2 separate regions of the Homo sapiens genome follow, and region 2 is linked to region 1. The links are contacts of gene promoters, found by promoter capture Hi-C in human tissues and cell types (Jung and others, 2019). All regions are on one chromosome and are shown on one strand. Each heading gives the region's core, a stretch centred on a gene start or on the middle of the fragment in contact. The rest is flanking DNA. Distances are from core to core; before and after follow the strand shown. Region 1 holds the start of ANKS1B (ankyrin repeat and sterile alpha motif domain containing 1B). Region 2 overlaps ANKS1B (ankyrin repeat and sterile alpha motif domain containing 1B).

The links. Contacts are between HindIII fragments. The study calls those that stand out against the background at their distance.
Region 2: a fragment that was not itself captured here is called in contact with the fragment with the promoter of ANKS1B in region 1 in 1 of the 25 tissues and cell types used here (dorsolateral prefrontal cortex).

The regions. Positions count from the first base shown.
Region 1 is chr12:99,981,877-99,988,163 of GRCh38, forward strand. ANKS1B (ankyrin repeat and sterile alpha motif domain containing 1B) reads right to left here and starts at 3,060. Exons shown (of 27, transcript NM_001352186.2): 1 at 2,228-3,060. The coding sequence starts at 2,361. RefSeq lists an enhancer at 2,090-2,920 and a silencer at 3,033-3,082. The HindIII fragment of the contact is 20,528 bases long and covers 1-6,287 here.
Region 2 is chr12:99,818,417-99,824,703 of GRCh38, forward strand. All of the region lies in intron 2 of ANKS1B (ankyrin repeat and sterile alpha motif domain containing 1B), which reads right to left. Among named protein-coding and RNA genes, the nearest start is that of ANKS1B, 160 kb to the right of the region's middle. The HindIII fragment of the contact is 7,470 bases long and covers 1-6,287 here.

The DNA.
Region 1 (6,287 bases), core at 1,810-4,309:
ATTTCAAAGTGTCATTATGTTTGACGGGGGACACATTTTCCATTATCCTGCCAATAAATTTCTGATGACAATCATTTTTGAAATAAAGTGACAACTAAATAAAATGTGCCTTCTTAGGAATGTCATTTTATGCAAATGATTGCCCAAAGAATACAATTTCAACTCTCATTTTCTTCAGACACTATTCAGTATAAGATGGATAAAAGCAAGTTTAAAGGTTATTGGTTTTGTTTGTGATTTTTACAACTTGGTTCGAAGTACTCTAATAAACACATGTTGTTTACTTTTGTTTTCTATGTGCAATCTTTGTTGTAGAGCTACTACTACTACTACTACACCAGCAAAAGAGAAAACCTCTCACTCAAGATATACACTGTGGGTCACTATTTTGATACTTTAGTGTCCACTAACATTAAATACTTGGTGTTTTATCCCTAAAACTTGACATCTATTCTTTAAAAAAAAAAAAAAAAATCACAGCTGGGAAAGGAGTATTTAAAGGATGTTTGCTTTTGAGTTTTGTCACAAGGAGTGTTTTTAAAATACGATTTATCACAATAAAATTAAGTGAAATTCTCACTGTTCTCAAATAATTCCTCATGTTTTCCCGAAGAAATTGTTTATTTTGAGAAAATTCTTTCAGCATACCAGTTTTTAGACATAATCATTTTTATAACTGATGGATCCACAGCAAACGTTGTTATTTTACGTGTAACTTAAAACTGTAAAGAGATAAATTGCTTTCACATAAACTACATGTGACTACAGGCAATTATTAGAGCTGCAATCTGAAATATGCACACATTGTCTACCTGTGTTTGAAAGAGAAGATTATTTAACAAGGGAGTACACACAAGTCATCTCTATGACCTATTGAAAAAATGTCCCATAAATATTCATTCTTCTGACATGAACTATCATTCCAATAAAATGTCACTGTCAACGAGTATATAGAATAACATATGGGGCTTTTTAAAATCCCATCGACTATTTTTCAACTCAATTTATTTCACTGTAATAGAAACTTTCCATTTTCCCTTTTAGCTAGCCCTATAATTAATTGCACTGTCTGACCACCACAACCTATGAGAACTTGTGTAAAGAACGCAATGTCATCACCCAAAAGTTTCTATTAAGCACTTGTCAAGGGTAGCATGGAACAGTTTTTAAAAAACCAGGGAAATCACTTGGGCTTTCTAAAATTTTTACAACTATAGTTGGGTTATCCAAGAGATGTTTTAAGGCGAAGATATGAATGACAATTGATGACTCCAAAAATACCCAGGATAAATTGGATAGCCACGATTTTAGAAACTAAAGAGCTTCCCTTGAATTGTATCTAGTGAATACTCTCCAGGCTTCCTCCCTCCCAGTTGATTTCATTTGTCCATCAATACAACTTTTAATAGTTTCTCAAGTATGGAAATCAACCCCGCTATTTCCAAGGTACTGCTGAATGAAGACCTTGACATTTTTTTTAAATGTCATCTTAGAAAGATTCTCCAAGCAATACCAGTCTCACCTACGACATCTTCACGTTAAAAGGCCTCTACCGTACTCCATATACAGTATCCCAATACCAACCTGGCATCCTTCATCCTGAGCTATAACAACCAAGTTTCACTCAGCTATGTCCAGGTAACTGAAAGTATTGCTGGGGCTGCCTAACCTGCCCCATCAAGTTTTATACACACCCTGTGCTGAAGACATCTCACCAGAAAGAAGGTTCACTCACTTCATTTTGTGGGATCATAACCCACGGCACAGCAAACGCCTTCTGCAAGAGAAGGTAGGAGCCACCGAAGGCTGTGGCTTTTGCAGGGTAATTGCATGCACGCAAGAGATTCTCTGCCAATTTCATTTAACTAGACAAAAAAGGCTGCGTTCAAAGCTGCAAATATGTAATAAATGTTGATGGAAAGCGGGCGGAACGTCGATTTTCTTCAAGCAACACTAGTACATGTACAAGTTCTGCACCAGGGCTCAGAGGAAAAGTAGCTTACTGACGCATTGATGGAAGGCTATTTTAAAATTACTCAAAGAATCTAAGGCATCAATCTGACTGGGAGGCTCATACCTCCTCTCCATACACGCAGTCTGTTTTCCTACCTAATTTAAGAATGAATCGCTGGCAGCCACCAGGTGCAATAACCGTGAGGAGGAGGACGTATATCCATCACAATGCATAATGAGGTGTGCCAACCCCGGAGCTGGTGCCCGTCCTTACCTTAGCAGATTAGACAGGGGCAGGGGTCCGGATCCACCGCCCAGGATCCCTCCTTTCCTGCCAGACAGGAGTTTCTCCACCAGAGCCACATTTCCAGTGCGAGCAGCTTCCAGCAGCTCCTGGTCCTTCCCCATAGTCTCTCACCGACTCCCCCACAGAGTCCTTGCCCCCCTCGGGTCCTCCTCCCCACCCACCCCCACTCCCCAAAATCCAGGGCCCTCTTCGCCCCACCCTAAAATAATGCAAGAGCTTCAGCACGGAGAGCTCCCTGCAGCCCCAGGCAGGGAGCACGACTCTCTCCTCCTCTTCGGGGCGCAGCTTTTACAATGGGGATCAGACCATGTCTTGAAAGAGGGGCTGGCCGAGCTGGGAGCCGCGACGCGCCCCCACAGCCACTCCCCTGAATTCCCAAGGCCTCGTTCCCGCGGGTGCGGCGTGAGGGGGTGGGGACTCGGGGGTGCTTTTGAGGAGCGGGAGGAGGGTGGTGAGGACTGAGGTCGGAGGAGGAGGAGGAGGCGGCAGAGAGAGTCCTAGCTGGAGCGGGAGCGCAGGGAACACCCGCGGTGGCAGCAGCGGCCCGCGCGCCCTCGCGCCCGACCCGGGCTCGCCTCGGCTTCCTCGGCGGTTACGCGGGGGCGGCGTCCGCGGCGGGGAGGAGCGCGGCGGCGGCGGCGGCGGCTCGTGCGCTGTGGCCCGCGCCGAGGCAGGGCGGTGGGGGGCAGCCGCAGCGGGCGCGTGCCGAGGGCGGCGGCGGCGGCGAGGCCTGGCGCGCGGGGGGCGTGTGCGCGCGGGCAGGTGCGGCCCCTGGTGCGGCCCGAGTTGGGTGGCGGGCTGGCGGGGAGGGGCCGGGCCGGCTGAGGCGGGGCTTCGGCCCTGAGATTCTCTTCGTTCTCGTGGGCGGGGACCCTCCCTCCTCCACTCTCCTTGGAAGAGCGTTAACCGTGTGAGGACTGGAGTTCCCCGGGCCGCGTCGGCTCCTCCTCGGCCCGGCGGGCCCCGGCAACACGCCTCGGGTCTGTCACGACGCCTGAGGAAAATCCTCCGTGACAGGAATGGGGAGGCTGGTGACACTGGGGAGGGGCCCTTTGGCCACCGCTTCCATCAGAGTCTAGGCAACTTGACCGGCATTTCACCCTTCCGCTTTACCTCCCCAAGAGAGCCTGAGATCTGCCCTTGGTTAGAAAGAAGAGGCTCGTTTCGTCCTAGTTTCTGTGGCACTGGCCACCGAGCAGTTTGCGACTGTTTCAGTTTTTCTGGAGTCTTTAATCAGCCCATATTTTAGTTGGGCTTTGGAGATCTGCTGACTTGTAAGAATACCAGGAAAAAGGCTCTCATTGAAAATTTATCCACATCTACACTCGAAAAATATAAATGGGCATGGATTAGAGATCCACTTTAATTTGCATATATCATCAGCAATTCATTGTGCATGGTTGGCATGACTTGTTAGATGCTCTCCTTGGCCGTGGTGGAGAACGCGCGTTTATTTTCTATTAAAACTTCCTGTTACACCTTGTGCTTTGCATTGTCCTTGGAATAGACTTCATAAATGTTCACTTGTTGATAATTGATTGGTAAGAAGAGGACTTAATAGGCACTGTGCTTACAACAACCCAGTGAACTGGATATTATTATATCCATTTTAGAAATGAGGAAATAGGGCTCAAATGGTTAATTAAATTTCTCAAGATGCCACATGGAGTAAGTGGCTGACTCAGAACTAGACCCCAGAACAGACTCACTCCAGACACCATGTGCTTCCCAATATACGTTCCTGCCCCCCATGGAAAAGCGAAATGGACAGACAATAATTATTGCATGCATTTGATGAGTAGTTGCTACATACCAGACACTATGCTAAGTGCTTTCCATGTTCTCATTAAGCCTTGCAACAATCGCATGAGATAGGACCATTTTCATCTCTATTTTGGAGATGAAGAAACTGATTACCCGCAAGATAATAGGGATAGAAAGTAACTGAGCCAAGGCTCAAATCCGGCACTGTCTGCTGTAGGCAAAGATTTTCAATAAATAACTGGGGGAAACTTAAAAGGCATTTAGAGATAAATAACAAGAGTATATTAAAACATTTTTATGGAATTCATTGTGTTCTGAGATTTCATTTCAATGATTCAAAATATTAGGTAAATTATGGCTATTTATTGGAGGTTTCCTGAAGTATGTAGATTTTGGCTAGTGTAGTTTTTTAATTCATTTTGATTTTGTTTTCTGTGTTAGAATCTGTTTTAATAAGATAATCTATGTTATAATAATATAATCCCTGACATAATGGGACTAGCAGACCAATGAAAGAAACGAGATAAGGAGCCATCACATTCATTTTGAAAATGGCATAGGGAAATCCTTCTTCCTTTTTCCTAATGTTGCCACCTAAGCAAAACACACCTTTCCCAGAATATACTGTAAGTATTCAATTGGTCAGAACTGAAAATCACCCACAGTTTTCACAAGCAACATTTAATCATGGATGAGTTGGTGACCGCAGGCCCCGAGTCATCTTATCGAAATCATGCAGCCCCCACCCCCAATGGGAAAACCATTAGTAATGATTTACTCTAAGAATCAGTTCCACAGTTCGGGCATTCTACTGACATATGATAATCAAAGCCAATTTTTCAGCTTCAAACTCTTTGGTTTTAGTGACCTCATAACTTTGTTTTTCTGTAGACATTGCAGTGACTGCACCTCATAGTTTTTTGTTGAAGAGGATAAAGGCTTTGGCTACATGGGGACTAACATGCAAAATAAAAGTGAAAACATTCTTTTAAAAATCTACAGAGGCCAAAATAAATATCCAGATCTTTTAAACATCCAGATTTCATCAAGATGTTTTGCATCTGTGAATAGTGAAAAGAGTGATAGAATCTTGGGAACCAATTAGACAATCTCTATCTCAGTGTGTGCATAAGTAAAATGAAGAAGTTATGTCGGATGCCTTCCACTGGCCTTGCCAGCCATAATATTCTATGCCTGTGATGAAACGTGGTCTTAGTCCATTAAGTCATTTGCATCACTGAAGCTAGAAATTAAGTATGGAGATAGATTTGAGATTTCTATTCTGTTTTTATTTGATTTGATTTTCTGAGACAGAGTCTGACTCTGTTGCCAAGACTGGAGTGCAGTGGCACGATCTCAGCTCACTGCAACCTCTGCTCCCAGGTTCAAGTGATTCTCAAGCCTCAGCCTCCCCAGTAGCTGAGATTAGAGGCGCCCACCACCACGCCCGGCTAATTTTTGTATTTTTAGTAGAGACAGGATTTCACTATGTTGGTCAGGCTGGTCTCAAACTCCTGACCTCAAGTGATCCACCTGCCTCGGCCACCCTCTATTTTGTTTTTAATTATAAAATAAATATATATTTTTTCGGGTTTTTAAATCTATCTTTGCTATTCTCAATGGACAGTATTAATAATAGCAAATGTAGGCCGGGCATGGTGGCTCATGCCAGTAATCCCAGCACTTTTGGGAGGCCAAGGTGGGTGGATCATGAGGTCAGGAGATCGAGACCATCCTGGCTAACATGGAGAAACCCCATTTCTACTAAAAATACTAAAAATTAGCCGGGCATGGTGGCGGGCACCTGTAGTCCCAGCTACTCGGGAGGCTGAGCCAGGAGAATGGCGTAAGCCCAGGAGGTGGAGCTTGCAGTGAGTGGAGATCGCGCCACTGCACTTCAGCCTGGGCGACAGAGCAAGACTCTGTCTCAAAAATAAATAAATAAATAAAATAAAATAAAATAATAATAATAGTACATGTGTATTTTGTGCCAGGAATGATACTATACCCTTTACTTTCTCTCATTTTATTTAATTCTGAAGTAACACTGTAAGAAGATATTATAAGTCCTGCAGAATCTCTGAATCCCTTATATTTCAAATTCTGATATAAATCTACTTCTGGATACTTTTTGGCAAGAATTATTGCTCTAATATACACATACTGCAAGTCACTCTTCTAGGAGTTGATTAATAAAAGAAGGGACTAGGGGTTGAGATTAGAAGGGGGAAGTGAAGCAAATACCAGTTTTTGTATAGAAGTG
Region 2 (6,287 bases), core at 1,399-3,898, 160 kb before region 1:
ACCTGGACCACAATAACTTATTGAAAAATTAATGTTAAAAAATTCATTGGGACTGTGAAAAAAGAAATATTAAGTTACATTGCTAATCAATATCTGTAAAATAGCAAGCAGCAAAATAATCCCTATGTCTTAAATGTAAAGTAGCATTTTCTGATATCCAGCATTTGACAAATAACAAATACTCTAAAATCCTAAAGCAAATGTGGTTGACAAGAAAATAGAAAAAATATTTTGGAAAATGGAAATAGAAATGGAAAAATACTTTCCATTTCCCAAAAACAAAGTAAAACATCAAATTAAATTTAATAATATCCAATGTAAATAGCTGCAATATTTTGCAGCTTTAAGCTAATACATGTAAGTTCAGTTAAAAACAGGAATTCTAGAAGTATTGACTTTTGCTGCTATATTTAATTCACATCCATTTTCTGAAAGATATAAATACACATCTGATTAATAAAAAATGTATTTCGGTAAGTTCAGCATATGCTCTGAGCAAAATTAAATAAATTGGGAAGAGTCAACCTTCAAATTTCTTTGCCTCAACAGCAAGATTCCCTGTAATTAAATCACAACCAAAGATGTTTATTTCATACCATCCTCTCTTGCTTGTTGATTGAGTCCAAAGAATTTCAAAATAAATGCAAATCATCTTCATATGGATGCAGAATTAACATCTAATGAAACTCTCAAATTTAATAAGGTCCTTTTGATTTCAGATTTTCTTGACACTTTTACTTCTCTTTAATGGGAATAAAGTTGCAGATGTGTTCAAGATGGTCAAAAGATTTCAGGACAATACGTCCCATTTTCTAACTGAAGTTTCTTTACATGTTGAATTCACTCTCATAGATTTCTAGATTACAGAGTGAATAAAGGCAAATTTTAAGTAGTCTGTATCCTTATCCAGGAAAAAAAGCAAGATGACTAAAGATGTTTCTAGTTATTCAAAGAGCAACTTCAGAGACCAGATTATACAATTTTTAGAGGAGGTATGCCTCTTTTATTAGAAAACCTAAGAAAGATCAAATCATACAGATAGCTTATTATATGGATTCTAGATCCAATTTGATACGCAATCTGGATTACAGATAATGAGATCTAGCATGCATTAAATACTTTAAAAGGTAGAAGAATAGAAAATATCTTATGTGTATATAAAACAATATACATATTTCAGAAATACAATAACGATCTGCTGATATTTTTCAAAACAGCATGCAAGTGTCACAATATACCAAATATAGTTTAATAACATTAAACTTAAGAAGAAAATAAGGAACTATTTGTTAAGTAGAGAAGAAAAATTGAATTGAAATATGAGTATACAGGTTTAATATAACCTCACAGGGAAAGATAAGATTATTACTAAAAATAATGGATGAAAAGAAGAGAGGAGAAAAGTCAGAAAGAAGGAAAAGTAAAGGAAAAAGGAATGAGGGGACTAAGGAAAGCAGAGGAGAACAAGAAAAAAAGGGATGAGAAGAAGTGGGAGGCAGGGAAGGAAGGTAGAGAGGAAGGCAGGTAGTCAGGCCAGCCAATTGCTTTTCAGAGGAGAATTAAGGGATTTGAATTTGCAGTAGAAATACATGTGACAATGAATCCTCCATATTTTAAAAAGAGAAAAAGATACAAAGAAATAGCTCTCTACTCTATCTATGGAAATAATTTATAATACTTGCAGTAAATTTTGTTTTATTAACCATGATTTTTTCCTATCATTTGATGGTAATAATTTTCTAATCTGTGATTACAAATAACCCAAGAAATCACCAGTAGAGTACATTTTCCATTGTGTCCTGATCTGGCTAATTGAAGATGAATATGAAATAATGCATTTCAGGTACAAAATGCTGCTTCATTTGTGGATTAACTAGCATTGATAAACAATGGCTCCCAATGAAAATGTACAAAATTGGGGAAACTGGTTTAATTTTCAGTATGAAGGCTTTAGATTTTATGTTGGGGGTAGGGGGACAGTTTGTGTTCAAAGCAAAAGAATAAACTATATGATCCCGAAACATTACTGCTGGCTTTATGATTCTATGAACTTTAGCCTACCAATTATAATGTTTATGGAAAAAATCTAGAGCAGATGGATACAACAACAGCGACAAACATGGAAATGATGTGTTTCTGTGCAGACTGCTAAGGCTTGCTTGGGAAGAATACAATATAATCATTGTTAGTTACCTCTGCTAAGTGAGAATGCAAATAAAAGAAATAACCTTCTTCTCTGGCTCTGAGATACAGTCTATGACATTATTTTCTCCCTCAAATATCTTTTAAGCCAATATTAAAATTAGCATTCCATGTAAACATATGACAAATGATTATGGGAGGCAGGCCAGAAATATATAATGTGACAGAGAAGAGCCAGGGAGAGTTTAACAACAAAGGGGAGATAATGCAGAGTACTGGTAAAAGCATAGACTTAGAACCAGAACACTTAAGCTCTAGACACAACCCCACTTTAATATCTATGTGGCCATTAAGTCACTTAACTAAATGGGCATTGTTTCTCCATCTATAAAATGAGGGAGCTGAGGGGTGTCAGGTAGAAAAAGTGATCTCTAACTGTACAAGTTCATAGATTATTTAAACTTGCAAAATCAAGAAACATACACTCTATATGAAATTCCCAATTTCAGAACTGTAGCATCATAGTGCATAACTGAGCCATAAATAATACCAACACAGTGTATCATTCAATGTTATCATTGTAAGAAACAATGGAGAATATCAAGCCAATCTATTCAAGCTATTGAACTGAGGCCTACAGATGTTAAGTAAATGGTTCAAGGTCACACAACTAGCAGAGATGGGGAGATGGGGTTAGAATCTTCCTGCTTTTTCCAATGCCTATAGGATGACACTGAAAATTAAAAAGAAAAGATAAATGAGATCTTTCAGACAAAAGCACAGACATATAATTCCCACAGACTATCTGTAATTAAAGGGATCTTTAAAAATAGCTAATCAAATTATCTGTTTGTGAGAATCTTAATGATTGCTATTCAATTTGCTTAAATTATCTTTATTTTCTAAATCACCAAAAAAAAAAAAAATTATGCCATGGGCCATAGAAAAACATATCTCAACAGTTAGAACTTCATAGACTGTCATGTATAAATCAGCATTTACTAAATACTTCACTGAAAATGAAGGAGGGATATGAATGCTAATCCATTTTGGGACAATATTACTTTAAGAAGTGCTTACCTACCAATGCCAATCTGAGAAAGAACAAGAAAAGTAGTATGCCTCAAATGAAAGGTCAGGCCCAAGATATCCTGCCCATTAGATGTAATAGAGTTTATCTTCCCAATTAGAACTAAAAAATATGATAGTAGCCTGAATCCATAATTCAGATAGCCAAGAAGCCATCAGGATTATATTACTTGGGCTGATTTGTCTTTGTTCCTGGTGACTCAGGTAAAAAAAGAATAACAACATTCTCCTTTAAAATATTTAGATATCTGGACATACTTTCCATTCTATAAAGGAAGAGAAAAAATTAGAAGATATGGCAAAATATTTCTAAATGAGATGATATAAGACAATATAGAATAGGAACTGAATAAAAATAAATACAATTTGGGAATTCCAATTCTAAAAATCTAAATAATGAAACAAAGTTTATAATAGTTTATGTAACTCAAATGATTCTCTAAACAGGCTGATGGCATTAAATTTATACATTTTAAGAGAAAAATGTCAGTGATCAATAATGACAAAAAAAATGTCTTGCATTAAGAGCTTTATGACCACCAAACCTAAGATTAAGTATGAAGAAGACCCTTGAGTCACCATTCACAGAATAAAAGAAATGTTAGGTGAAAAAACAAAAGGTAACTACCATTTCTACTTTTTAAAAAATAATTTCAACTTTTATTTTAGATTCAGGGGACACATGTGCAACTTTTATTTTAGATTCAGGGGATATATTGTATGATGCTGAGGTTTGGGATACAATTTATCCCATCACCTTGATACTGAGGATAGTACCCAATAGTTTTTCAACCCTCCCTACCCCCTCTAGTGGTCTCCAGTTTCTATCATTGCCATCTTTATGTCCACAAGTAGCCAGTATTAAGTTCCCACTTATAAGTGAGAACATGCAGTATTTGATTTGCTGTTCTTCCATTAATTCACTTAGAATAATAGCTTCTAGCTGCATCTGTTGTTGCAAAGGACACAATTTCATTCTTTTCATAGCTGCATAGTATTCCATGGTGCATATGTACTACATTTTCTTTATCCAATCCACCACTGATTGGCACTTCAATTGATTCCATGTCTTTGCTATTGTGAATAGTGCTGCAATGAGCATGCAGGTGCTTGTGTCTTTTTGATAGAACAATTTACTTTCTTTTGGATTTATACCCTGTAATGGGAATGCTGGGTAGAATGGTAGTTCTGTTTTAAGTTCTTTGAGAAATCTCCAAACTGCTTTCCACAGAGACTGAACTAATTTTTACATTCCCACCAACAGTGAATAAGCACTCTCTTCACTCTATAAAAGATGCCAACATTTGTCATTTTTTGACTTTTTAATAATAGCCATTCTGACTGGTGTGAAATGGTTTCTCTGTGGTTTTGATTTGCATTTCTCTGACGATTAGTGATGTTGAGCATTTTTTCATACACTTGTTGGCCACTTGTATATCTTCTTTTAAGAAGTGTCTGTTCACGTCTTCTGAGTACTTTTTAATGGGATTATTTGGTTTTTGCTTGTTGAATTCTTTAAATTCCTTATAGATTCTGAATATTTGGCCTTTGGTAGATGCATAGTTTATGAATATTTTCTCCCATTCTATAGTTTGTTTATTGATAGTTTCTCTTGCTGTGCAGAAGTGCTTTAGTTTAATGAAATTAGGTCCCACTTGTCAATTTTATCTATTTATTTATTTATTTTTGAGACAGTCACCCAGGCTGGAGTGCAGTCATGAGATCTCTGCTCGCTGCAACCTCTGCCTCCAGGGTTCAAGCGATTCTCCTGCCTCAGCCTCCTGAGTAGCTGGGATTACAGGCACATATCATCGTGCCCAGCTAATTTTTGTAATTTTAGTAGAGACAGGGTTTTGCCACATTGGTCAGGCTGGTCTCAAACTTCTGGCCTCAAGCTATCCACCTGCTTCGGCCTCCCAAAGTGCTGGGATTACAGGCATGAGCCACTGCACCTGGCCTCAATGTTTCTTTCTGTTGCAATTGCTTTTGAAGTCTCTATCGTGAAGTATTTGCCCAGTTCTATGTCCAGAATGGTGTTTCCAAGGTTTTCCTCTAAGATTCTTATAGTTTGAGATCTTACATTTAAATCTTCAATCTACCTTGAGATAATTTTTGTATATGGTGAAAGGTTAAGGTCCAGTTCCAGTCTTCTGCATATGGTTATCCAGCTATCCTAGCACTATTTATTGAAGAGGGAGTCCTTTCTCCATTGCTTATTTGTTATCAATTTTGTTGAATACCAGATGGCTATAGGTGTATGGCTTTATTTCTGGGTTCTCTAACCTGTTTATTGGTCTATGTGTCTGTTTTTGTACCAGTACCATGCTGTTTTAGTTAATACTGTAGCCTTATGGAATAGTTTGAAATCTGCTATCATGATGCCTCTGGCTTTGCTCTTTTTGCTTAGGATTGCTTTGGCTATTTGAGCTCTTTTTTTAAATTCAAAATGAATTTTAGAATAGTTTTTTCCTAGTTCTGTGAAAAATGACATTAGTAATTTGATAGGAATAGTACGGAATCTGTAGATTGTAACTAGCACTTTTAAAGCAGTAATTACCACATCTAAAAGACTAAAGTGAGGGCCAGGCGTGGTAGCTCACAATCGGCACTTTGGGAGGCCAAGGCGGGCAGATCACGAGGTCAGGAGTTGAAGACCAGCCTGATCAACATGGTGAAACCCCGTCTCTACTAAAAATACAAAAATTGGCCAGGCGTGGTGGTGGGCATCTGTAATCCTAGCTACTCAGGAGGCAGAGGCAGGAGAATAACTTGAATCCAGGAGGCGGAGGTTGCAGTGAGCCACGATTGTGCCACTGCACTCCAGCCTGGGCGAAGGAGTGAGACTCTGTCTCAAAAAAAAAAAAAAAGTGAAATGAAATGATACAGATCTGGGAAAACTAACTTGGATCATTCACACAAAGGGAAAACAGAGACGAGGGGGAGATAAAGGAAGAGGGTCATTTTTTTTCTGTAGGGGAGGACAGAACATCTGAATCATTTGGAGGACTCATCACACTTTAACTCTGTCACTAAACCATTAGGATACCTAGCTAAAA